Regions from separate parts of the Homo sapiens genome. Here region 2 is linked to region 1. Evidence: promoter capture Hi-C in human tissues and cell types (Jung and others, 2019). All regions are on one chromosome and are shown on one strand. The core of a region is centred on a gene start or on the middle of the fragment in contact, and the rest is flanking DNA. Distances in the headings are between cores, read along the strand shown. Region 1 holds the start of BCHE (butyrylcholinesterase). Region 2 overlaps BCHE (butyrylcholinesterase).

The links. The method cuts DNA at HindIII sites, captures the fragments that hold promoters and counts their contacts. A contact is called where the count stands out against the background at its distance.
Region 2: a fragment that was not itself captured here is called in contact with the fragment with the promoter of BCHE in region 1 in 2 of the 25 tissues and cell types used here (bladder and hippocampus).

Annotation. Positions count from the first base shown.
Region 1 is chr3:165,834,789-165,841,490 of GRCh38, forward strand. It overlaps BCHE (butyrylcholinesterase), which reads right to left and starts at 2,635. Exons shown (of 4, transcript NM_000055.4): 1 at 2,526-2,635. RefSeq lists an enhancer at 2,453-2,747. The HindIII fragment of the contact is 2,864 bases long and covers 1,606-4,469 here.
Region 2 is chr3:165,794,010-165,800,387 of GRCh38, forward strand. The region is part of intron 2 of BCHE (butyrylcholinesterase); the gene reads right to left. Among named protein-coding and RNA genes, the nearest start is that of BCHE, 40 kb to the right of the region's middle. The HindIII fragment of the contact is 6,653 bases long and covers 499-6,378 here.

The DNA of each region.
Region 1 (6,702 bases), core at 1,385-3,884:
AATTTTATTATTATTATACTTTAAGTTTTAGGGTACATGTGCACAACGTGCAGGTTTGATCGTTTTTCTTTTAATAAATTCTGGTGCAATTGGATACTGTCTCACATGATTCTGAGAGAACATAGTAGCATAAACATTATCATAAAAATGGGGCACATTTTCACAAATACAGCTGTGTATCTGAATTTAGATCAATTTGCTTATCAAAATAGTATTTAATATTGGAAATAAAGACAGGAGTTTTTGTTTGGAATTCAGACCATTCTAGTTTTTGAGGAATTGAGTTTTTGAGGAATTTGAGTTTTTGAGGAACTGAGTTTTTGTTTGGAATTAAGAAAATTTACTGGCAATTTTTGAAAATGCTAAACTGTTATAACAATAACTTTCAAATAAAAAAGGTGACAAATCTTTTTTTGTATTTTTAATTCAATTTTGAAAGTACTATTAATATTCCCTAGCTGATTTTAACAAAAAATACTAAATGTTATACTATAAGATGTGAGTGTGATAAAATAATTTGTATAAAGAGCTATTTTTTGGGATACTTGAATATCAACCAGATTTTCAAAATAAGGGACAAGCCAAGAATTTTTAAAAGATGTTCAAGCAAATATTCAAAATATTTTCCCTGTGTATAATTTCCCTATCTTTTAAAAAGTTACAATTAAATAAATATTTATTTCTACTTGGAAATAAACCCTCTTAAAATGGTAGAGAAAGAGCCATCTAGATAATATTAATATGATCTAGAACAAGCTCTCTTAAATGTATTTGAAGAAATTGGAACAACGACGTCTTTATATCAAACTTAAAAAGCTTGTTTTGTTGCAGACTAAGTGAAGTGGGGAATTGAGGAAGTCTGATTATAAATAGACTACATCACTGTCTTTCAGGGATTCTTCAGCTATGCTTTAGGCATGTATACATATAGAAGACACTACATTAGATATAAGAAACTTAAGATGTTTTATCTGTCCTCAATTAGGAAGAACATTTGCAAACTTCATTGTGTGAATAATTTGAACATTTATTAGAGAGATTTCTTGAGTCTTCTCTGAAAATTAAATCTCCTCTTAGGTTGCTATCTATTCAATTACAATTCTCTTAACATCTGGGACCGTCTAATTTTGGTAAGAATGAGCAGATGCTGGCAAGAAACCATCGAAATGAAGATAATATTCAATGTAAATATATATTATACTTATCAAGAAATGACTCGAAGAAGGAACCAAATTTATAGATAAGATGTGACTTGTTTAGCTATTAGTAGCTTATGTTTTATAAAAATGAAATATGGAATACATCCCAAACATATTTTTACAATTAAAAAACTAGGACAATACAAACAAACAACAACAACAAAAAATTAGGAGAACAAAACAGAACTTTGATAACCCAATTAGAAATTTATTTGGCATCCAAAAGACTACTTTATTTTATATCCAGAGAAAATTCTGAAGATTTTTATTCAAATGTTAAAGTCACACTTTAAAAGCTCACGCTTATCCTTAAACAAAGTAACTACTTATATAAGTAAACTGTCATTGTATTTATTGTAACTATGAGATAGTTTATATTAAGGAAGGCATTACACAGACTAGTGACAGGAGCTCCTAATTGAGTTTATTATCATGAAATATATTCATAAAAATGTAGAAGACATACTCATAAAATAAAAATATATAATAAATAGAAATCATAAACAATGAAATCACATTTCAGTTTACTTTTAGTCATTCATAGATTTTATAATCCTTAATATTTAATTCCCTGGTTAAAGTGGAACTGATGTTATCAAAATAATAGTTTTACAAGATTATAGGATGAGCAGAAAGTACATTTGCTTACTATTTCTATAATAGTAAAATAATAGCAAATGTAAAATATTTTGCTACAATTTAAACAAACATATAAAAAGTGAACACAAAGGGCAAAGGGGACACGCTCATAAATCACTGTAAATCAAATTAGAAAACAGGTTTTGTTTTTATTTACATAAAATAAACAGACCTCTCATTTGCCAGTTGTTACTGTTAAAGTTTTAGGTGACAAAATGTTGATTGAGAAAAGTATTTTGTTCAGGAAAAAGTAAGTTAACTACTAACTTTATCCCATTTAAAAAGAAAAAAAAAGGAAGACTAATCAAAGATTACTTTTACAGAGAGATTCAATAAACAATGCATTTAAGGGTAAGCCAGTATGAAATGTTTTTTCTTAGGAAACTCACTAAGAATATATATCACAGTGATTCCACACGTGCTATGGTCCTTTATACAGAGTTGAATAAATTCATTATTTTCTCAGCAGTTAAATAAACAAAGTCTGCGTTCCCTGAATAATAGGAAGATTTGATGCATGTGCCTGCTGGCTCACTTCCTCTGTCCCATTTGCAAGCTTCAGTAACTGTTCCCCACAGAGCACCAAAGGGACACAACAAACACATGAAGAGATCACTCTCATCCCACAGAATGAGCTTTACAGTAACTTGGATCTCTACACGAAGGTGTAAATTCAGAGCAACTTACCCGATTCTCTGCAACAAAGATGGCAAAGTTTGCAAGGAGTGAAAATCATGTAATACTTCGGGGAAATGCAGGATGCAGCTGCTGCTCCAGCCTGTAAATTGGACTGCACTGACATTCAGTGTTACTGAATGTAACAATCAACTGTTACTGACAAAGCTCGCGAGAGTTGGCAGCAGCAACTTGAAATCTGTTCAGAGGCTAATGGTATAAATGCAATAGTGATTCATTTACAGAAGTATTACAGGATTCATGCTTTACAATTGCAGGTAGTCTTCTAAGAATGAAGAAAAAAAGCATAGAAGATTCTTTAACTAAAATAATCTGAAATGTAACAGAAAATGCATGTTTCTTTTAACTCTAAACTTTAAAAAAATTTTCCTTTTTTTAAGAATATACATATTTCCTATGCTTGTCTTAAGATTTAAAGACGTATACATCATTCTAAAGTAGTGCTATTATTGAAATCCATTATAGCTTCAATCTGTGCTAATTATATAGTTAGAGAAGATAGTAATATAGAAAATAAGAAACACAATGCTCTAGATATAAGCTATGCAAATCAAAAACTTAGTTCTATTAACTGAATGGATGTCTCTGATATGTATCTCCTTTCAACCCCCACACTTCAACACTTATTTAAGTCATACAAATTTCAGCATTGGTAATTTCCTATTCAGAAGACCCTGCAGGCAGTCATACATGATGAGAAGCCACAATTTTCTGGTCAAGACAGGAAAAATAAAATGAATAACCTTCACCAAACTCTATAAAAGAGACACATTTGTCAACTTGCAGTGCACATGCTCTGGAGAATATATTTATGTCTTTGGCGCTTATCTTTCTTGAAATGATGTTCAGGAAAATAATTTTTTAAAAAACCTTTGATAAACTCCTTAATCCCTATCTTCTCAATGCAATATATTCTTAATCTTCTGTAAGTGATAGCTTTCACTTTTGAATCTCTTACTTGTGGGCTTTCTATGGACTAAACAGAAGGCATGTATTAATATTTGCAGGTGAGCACTTTTTTGCCTTTTAATAGAGTGTTAAATTTTCAAACAAGCAAATATAATTAGCATTTGTTGTAATTCTACCTTATGCCAGTCATTATAATTGACAATTTATATTAAATATTTTATATTATTTCAGCAAATATGAGAGTTAATATTATTAACCACCTCATCAGATGAGAAAGCTAAGGTTTCTACAAATCAGAAGCTTACTATATTTCTTACCACTAGTAGCTGTTGGAAAACAGAATTTTAATCTGTATTATTCTGTTATTTTATGTCAACTGCTTCCAAGAGAATAACCATTTTGGTCTTTTAAAATTATCTTTTCTGTGAAAATTGCTACTTAGGCAGTGTTAATTCAATGATAAATATCATGATCACAATAATTTATAATGTATTTAGAATATAGTTTATGTAATAACAAGTTAGTTACACAAAAGGTACAGAATACATAATCTATCTGAAAAGGAGAAAAAGGAGGTGGAGCACAGTGGTTCATGACTGTAATCCCAACATTTTAGGAGGCCTAAGTGGGCGGATTGCTTCAGTCTGGGAGTTCAAGACAAGTCTGGACAACATAGCAAAACTCAATTTCTGCAAGAAAATGGGTCAGACATGGTGGTGCAAGCCTACATTCCCAGTTACTTGGGAGGTAGCTGAGGTAAGAGTATCACCTGAGCCTAGGAGGTCGAGGCTGCAAGCCACGATTGTGCCACTGCACTTCATCGTGGGTGACAGAGTGAGATCCTGTCTCAAAAAAAAATTAATCAATAAATCAATAAAAGCAGGAAAAGGCTTTTTAAATGGAAGTATATTGACAAATTTGCAATGGTTTTTATAGTGATGGCATTTCTGTTTAAAATATAGTAAATCTGATGTTCCACATGAGAGTTCATGGGTTCAATATACATGATTTTTAAAAATCCAAATGTCAAAATTCTTCTCTCCAACCCAAGTCCACTGCATTGTTTCCTGTGCTAGCATAAGGTCAGCCTATCAAACGCGGCAATTATTAAGGAATATTTTGTGACGTTAGTGAATTCAGCAAAGCATTTTACATGCTTCCTGCATCTACTCACTGCTAGGTAAAATATGTCACATATATACACATATTTCATTTTCATCTTTAAACAGGAAGCCAAACAATAAAATAATTGGTTTCAAGCAGATCTTTATCTTTAACGCATGTTTAAACTGGCTAACTAGCAACATCAACTGATTACACAAGTTGGCAATTTTTCTTCTTCTCAATGTCTTTACTTCAAAGAACCACCTTCTGTTACTGTCCCTGTAGTTCTTTTCCTCGCATGATTTCACAGCTATGCCACATTAGTTCATTCATTATTTTAGTGCACCTCTAAAGCATTTATTCTTCCTGTCTTGAGAGTTTCTTCCTTGTGGCTCAACTTACAGCAGCTGCTTTGCTTCTGTGGTGTCATCATTTTCTCACACTCATCCAGCGGAAGGATGTAGGTCACACACAGTGAGCTTGTTTCAGGGTTAGTAGGGAAGCACTATTCCATTACATCACAGCATGGATGGTTAATGATCCTGCTGTTAAATGTTGAGTATGCCTTGTAAGCGACACTGATGAAATACCACAAGACACTTGACACGGCATTAACACTGCGCACATTTTGCAACCATATATGCTGAAGCTTGGGCAGGACAATCATTATGGTTTTGGCTCTATGATCACTTTCAGTTAGCCAGTCACAGTGGTTTTTTGCTTTTAAGGTCCCATTGTAACTCAGTTACCACTGTTTTCTAGATAGCAGCATTCAGTAAGATTTGAGATGGTGTGAAAAACATTAATCCTGTATTATACATTAGTTTTCCTTAGGCATACTGATGCCAAAAAAGTGCTCTAAACTTATATTAATTTTATTCATTTTTTTTACAATAGCACTGCATTCTCTGAAATGAATATGGATAACAAAGAAAAGTATATATAAGTATAGATAGATAGATAGATAGATAGATAGATAGATAGATAGATAGATAGATAGATTTTTTTTTTTTTTTCCTGAGATGGAGTCTCACTCTGTCGCCCAGGCTGGAGTGCAGTGGCAGGATCTCGGCTCACTGCAACCTCTGCCTCCTGGGTTCAAGCAATTTTCCTGCCTCAGCCTCCTGAGTAGCTGGGATTACAGGCACCCACCACCAAATCTGGCTAATTTTTGTATTTTTAGTAGACACAGGATTTCACTATGTTGGCCAGGCTGGTCTCGAATTCCTGACCTCAGGTGCTCCACCAACCTCGGCCTCCCAAAGTGCTGGGATTATAGGTGTGAGCTACTGCATCCAGCCCAGAAAAGTATATTTCTACATTTTACATATCACAGAGAATGAAAAGACCATTTTGTATATTCCAATCAATTTTTTAAAATATGTGTATGTGGTTATAGTTACATAGATAAATATAGTGGTAGTCAAATGGCTTATCATCATTCTTCTTGCTTTTTATCTTATGATATTAATTTCCTATTAAAATATTTTGATTACTGTGTGATATATTATCATATGGGCATATTATGGTTCATTGTATCTCTTGTTACTTATATGATGATAATAATAATTTTAGGTAATAAATATTATTTGAAAGCACTATTCTATCCACTTTGAATACATGAATTCATTTAAAACTCATGACTACCTTTAAAATAAGCACTATTATTAACCTTATTTTACATTTGAGAAAATATAGCCACAAAGAGTTTAAGTAACTTGCTCCAAATCATACAGATACCGAGGTTAGCTTCTGACTTTTTTTATGTATTATTACAATAGGCATTTTGTATATCGATATTTGAGTGCATCTTTTAATTATTTTCTTAATTTATTTTCCCAGAATTGGAATAACCAAATACGACATGGACAAAGTACATATACATATATGTGTGTGTGTATATATACATGTGTGTATGTATATATATTTATATGTATATTCAATCTTCTGAAATCCTACACAGACTGTTGAATAGAGATAACTTTCCAACAATTCTGGCAAAAAAGAGAAATGTTCTTATAATCAGAACTAACCTGAACATGTCTCTGGAGCCCAGGTACTAGACCCTCATAGCTGGATGTGGCAGGTGTTTGAAGGTGGATATCTCCAGAGATATTAGAAGTAGGTCCAGAGCCACAGGTAATAAAATTCTTTA
Region 2 (6,378 bases), core at 2,575-5,074, 40 kb before region 1:
GCACTCCAGCCTGGGCGATGGAGCGACACTCCATCTCAAATAAAAAAAAAAAAATACACAGATTTCTTAAATTAAATAAATTAATTATAGTATTTATTCTTAACTATATACCCAAATAAAATGAGTTTAATATCCACTGAATTTTATTACAGCAATTTAATATTAATCCGTGAATGCATTACTAGTAATTTAATCACACTGGCTCCATTTTAATCCACAAGGCAATGTCCTAGGTAATTTGTTAGTTTTATAAAACCTTTTCTTTCATGGTTTTCTACAAGCTTCTAAGATGAATCTTTAAAGATAAAAGAAAAATGTAAGTATTTTTTCTTTGCATACTCACACATATACACAAGCTGTCATAGTCTGCTTGGGATTATATAACAGAATATCATACATTGGATAGCTTACAGACAACAGAAATTGATGTTTCATATTCTGGAAGCTGGGAAATTCAAAATCAAGGCATTGGCAACTTTGGTGTCTGATGAGAGGGCTTACTTCTTGGTTCATAGACAGCAGTCTTTTTGCTGTGTCCTCACATAGTAGAAGGGAGAAGGGAGCTATTTGAGGTCTCTGATATAAGAGCACTAATCTCACTCATGAGGGCTCTACGCTCATCACCTAATCACTTTCCCAAGGCCCAACCTCCTAATACCTAATACCATCACATTGGGAGTTAGTATTTCAACATATGAATTTGGAAGCACACAAGCTTTCAGCCTATAGAGCAGACAAACATGTGTGTGTGCATGTGTGTGTGTGTCTGTGTGTTTGCATCTCTGTATTCTGCAAATTGAATATTAGAAATACCCAAAATAACTGAACAAATATCATTTATATAAAATTTTATTTTATATTATAACATACAAATGAAATACTGTAACAATGCCAAATTATATAAATTGAAAATTATATTTTGAGCTTCAGAGAAAATCAGTCTTATCTATTTTTTCATGTCCAGTGCCTATCATAAACCTAGGAAAATATACACTGAAAAAAATGGTTTTTGCAGTAAGAATTAAGTGAATAGCTTTCGGAACTTTGGATGTATCTTGGATCAATTCAGTATCAGTTCTAAAATAAAACTTTTCACTTTATTAAAAAAGAAACTCACATTTTCTCATGTGTTAAGTTAAAGAAAAATGTCTTGTAAATATTAATCTTCTAAAACTCACATTGAAAACTCACACTGATTCTTCAAGTGTCGTGACATAGCAAAACGTTTGACTTCAATGTCCTTCATCTGCTGATGAGGAGTCATTATATAGACGACTTTCTCTTAAGCCTGTTCACAAACTAAAATCTAACTCAGATTTTCCAAGGCCCACTTATATTCTCCATCTTGACTTACTATAGTTTGTTAGGAAGGTCTTTATAACTGTATTCTTTTTGTTTTCTGGAAGATGTAATAAAGGCAGAAAAAATTAGTTACCAAAGCAATGTGAACTGTATAATAATGCAGCTGTGCATAGAGAATGTAAGAGGATTATTTGCAATTTAGATTATATTTAATGCAAATATCTCAATCTAGTTCACTTTTATTAGTTGCTTCCTCCCATCTCCAGACATTTCTATTGCTAACGGTAGAAATGAGAAAAATAATTACCGAAGAACAATTCCCTAGATTCATTATAGTTTGTTCAGTTTTTTTCTTAGTTAAATAATAAGGTTTGCTATTTTTGGGCAGGAATCAAGGTACCTAGAGGGACAGGATTATAATAGCATACCTTAGAAATTTGCAAAAATTCATAAATTAACTAAGGATGATTTCTTGTATCTAAATATACTGTGCTATAAGAGTCCATGGCCAAGTAGCTTATTAAACTTTTACTGTTTCATCATTCCTGACTTGTGGATTGGAATACATCCTCAGCTTCACAGAGAATTTGGATATAGGTTTTTATGAGAAAAAAGAAGGGAAGAGAAAGGGAGAGGAGAGGAGAAGAGGAGAAGAGAAGAACCCCACAGGAAATATATAATCTGTATGATCCTTTACACAAATTTGATCAAAGGCAAAACATTTCAATGTGCTAAACTTTCTAGGAAATAAAAAAGAAGACTTATTTTCATCCAGCACTAATAAAGGGGAACAAATTACACTTCATTTAAAAAAATACTAGGAAGAAGACATACTAGCTGCACATAATTTTCAAACTTTAAGAAAAATTAACAGCTGTAGTAAATGGAGGCATGCAAAAATATTGGATGAGGTTTCATCACTAGCAATAAGCAAAGACCAATTATGATATAATATAGCTTGACATCTGTTATCAAAGTGGATGCCTCATAAGTAAGAAAGAAACATTTGGTTTGAAGGGGAAATAAAAACACACACAAAAATGTAAAACTGAATCCTGCATATAAGGTGAGACTTCTTGAATGATTTCTGGTATCAGAAGTCTTCCTTTACTCTAATCATTTGTTTTATTACTAGATCCTAATGAAGAGCCTTGTTCATATTGTCAGTCAGTATTGTTAAGCTCTGTTCTGTTCAAGAAATAAAATGGAGTATAAAATGCCTTAAGCACAAAGAAATATTTTTTCTTTTTAATCCAAATCAAAATCTTCACGTATTTTCACCGTTGCTGAGATGTAGTGTGTTTTTTTAATCCTAAATTTCTAACTGGGAATCAAGTGCCCACTTAAAGCATACTTTTATATATTATGTGAACATTTTAATCTTAATAAGTATTTAAAAGAGGCTTGTGTACTTAACCCACTCTCCTAAATACTTCACTAAAGTCGTTGGATAGAGTCATGAAAACAAATTGGTTTCCAGTGCACAGTTCTCTTTTAGTAATTTCTTTGTATTGCACATCTTCAGTTATTCATCAGCTGAAAGGGCAAAGAGTTACCACACAAAAGATCTCTAAGATCTTTAGTACACTGTTGGTATGATGGATGAACAAAGCTTTCATGGTCTGGAAGATTATTCTGTCTTCTTTCCTCTGCATTGTTTGGATATAAAGGTTTGCATAATTAGCTGGCAAGTTAAAGAGGAGATACGAGGCAATGTTTAGCCTCCTCCAACTTCAGAAAATGAATTGGGCTGAATACTAAATCATATTAAAGAAAATCAGAAACTTTTTCTTTCCCTTCCTTCCTTCTTTCCCTCCCTTCCTTCCTTCCCTCCTTCCCTCCTTCCTTCTTCCCTCCCTTCCTTCCTTCCCTCCTTCGTTCTTCCCTCCCTTCCTTCCTTCCCTCCTTCCCTCCTTCTTTCTTCCCTCCCTTCCTTCCTTCCCTCCTTCCCTTCCTTCCTTCCTTCCTTCCTCCCTCCTTCCTCCCTCCCTCCCCCCCTTCCTTCCTTCCTTCCTTCCTCCCTCCCTCCCTCCAGTCTCTCCTTTCTTCCTTCCTTCCTTCCTTTATTCTTCCCTTTTTCCCTTTATTCATTAGCTGGGCAAGTGCATCCAGATGTCTTCCCTAATTTCCAAATGTGAAGATGCATTATGTTTGTACCCATTTTCATCTTCCAGAGACAACAAAGCAACTGTTATCATTTGAATGCGATCATACGAATCCCAGAGGAGTGACAGCCTAATGATCTGTAGAAAGCTCAAATGTACTTTCAAATAATGGCACTAGAACACTTATTTTAATAAGGGGGCAGACTTTGCATTAATTATAGATAAGAAAATAATCTCAAACTTGAAACAAATTGGCTTCTTTTTTGAGTCTTCCAAATTCTATCGGTTTTGCTCTTATTCACGTCTGTTTGCTTTAGTCTGTGCCATAAAATTGATGGCAGCAAGCCCACAGTTTCAGGGATGAGTCTAGGAACTGCCAGAAAATGTCCTGGAAACTTAGTTTTGTAGTAGCATATACAAATCTTAAAATAGCTTGATTTTAAATGCATACTTAAATATTAGAAAAGACTTGGGAAATAATACTCCAAGAAAATTATACAAAAATTTAATTGTGATGTTTTTCTTTAATGGGTAGTTTCAGCATATCAAATAATTGTTCTTGAATTCAAAGTTATTGACTTTATATCACTATTCACTGGAGGTCCCAACATTTGACTAATCACCTCCATTAGACTTTAAGGCTCCGTAATAGCAGACAACATGTCTGTTTTTTTGACTCTTGTAGACTTGCATAGAGTCAGTGTCTGATAAAAGGCTGTTTGGTAAAGGTTTTACCTGAGTAAGTAAACCATTAGACTAATTGTATTAGAAAGAACCTTTAAAGTGATTAGAATTATACTGCATACACTTGAAACTACAGCGTATCCTTTCAAATGAAAAATCAAAGTGTGTGTCTGTGTGTGTGTGTGTGTAGGTGTATTTTCTCTTCTAAACAACTGGTGTGGATGTTGGCTAAGATATTTTGAGGTTGTTTGAGACCTGTTTCAGAGGTATATGAGTAAATTTAAGAAGAATATACTTTAAAAAACATTTATTAGAAATTTTGTATCTATTAGACACTGAACTGAGCACTTCTTATGCAAAAACTCAGTTAACATTCACTATAATTCTTTGAAAGAGGCAATTTTATTATTCAGATTATATAGATAAGGAAGCTGAGATTGTCCAATATCACACAACTTGAATGGCTGAGGTAGGTGAATTTTCAAATCTCAAAGCCTACAATGTCAAAAACATAAATCTGGTGTTTTAATGATTTCAACTAAGTACCTCAACATTAACATTAAAAAAATTGATATTACTGTTTCCTAATAAAAAGCAATTTTGCTGAGTGTTGTGGTGTGTGCTTATAATCCTAGCTACTTGGGAAGCTGGACTGAGTTAGAAGGATTTCTTGAGCCCTAGGTTTCTAGATATGCCTGGGCAACATAGTGAGCTCCCCATCTGAACAAAAAAAGAAGTAAGCAGTCTTCTCATGCAGTTTTTCTAAAACAAAACGAAACAAACAAACAAATAATAAAAAAAAACTAGAGTATATAGTTGCATACAGAGATACAAATGGAATATAAACAAATTTCATTCTCAATGATAGAATTACAAATAATACAGTTTTTAGGATAATATCTGTGGCTGTGGGTGACTAGCTCATCTCCTTATTTCTTTAGTACTTATTCAAAACATATCTATATCATCTGACAGATAACTTAGAAAACTTTGATAAATAAATCATTTTTCAACTTTTAAGTTAAAATATTTTTTCTATTTTATTTGAAATCTTTACAAAAATCCTATCCAATTTTCAAAATATTTTGTCTCTATTTAGCGTTGTGTTTCCTTCCAAATGGCACAGATTTCAACTTGGAATCATGAGAATATAATTGCCTTACATATTCTTCCTGCTTTAGAAAAGCTGTATGTTATTTTAGTTTAACTTCCTTTTATGAACCTACACTCCTGCCTAGCAGTGAATTTAGGTTAAAAATTTTAAGGTGTTGAACCTAGTATCATTTTATGTATTAATATACACAGTGTCTAATATGCAATGAGGGGATTTTAGGTAATGTAATGAATTTAGTGAAGCTAAAATTTTAAATATATCTATGTGTATTTAATTTTATTTGTATATCTACATAAAAGATGTTGTATATAGGGAAAGTAAGATGAAACAACCAAATGTGCCACATTAAGGTGCATAGACAGCAATGACACTGTTTATGGAGGAAGCTGTCAGCACAACAAATAAACATTGTAAGTCAGTTTTGTTACCATAAACATATATACAGACTCGAGCCTAAATCATGCTTAATGAATTTTTCAAAGTGAGCATTGAACATTGAATTTGTAATGATTAAAATGGTGATACACACAAAATAATCTTATTTCATTTTAATAATCGATTTCAGATACTTAAGTAATTGGTGAAAACCTTTAACCAAAATAATTTCAAATCTATATTAATATTAGAGAGGTAACAATAAAGATATGTGTGCTACCTACCATATAAAATGCCATATTTTTCCACAATTCTTTTTTCCCAATTATTTTACTGATCATTAGTAAGTTAAAAATATCCCATCCATATTTTCTACTATTTGAAAGTGTTACAATGTCCCATTTAGCCTTCAATTATTTCTCATGGAACTACTTTATTAGCGTGCAATTAGAAGTATTTTATAATCAAAGATTTCTATTCTTAAATTATTTCAGGTAACAATTTTCTGGGTATTTTTTCCTCCAAAATTTTTTTTCTGTTACTTGAATACTTTTTTTGAATCAAAAATAATATTAGGCCCTTTAAAAGAATTTCAAGTTATCTTGAAGTAATGTTGTCTAATCTTCCATTCAGTGTTTTATTCTCTTTAGTATATCTGCACAAAGCTATTCTAACTTCTGTTTTTTCACTTTTAATAATGGAATATGTGTCACAATCTGGACAAGGTCATTCCAATCCCTGACAACTTTATTCGTTACTAAATCTAGTTGGAAAAATAGACCTGCATTCAGGCCCTAC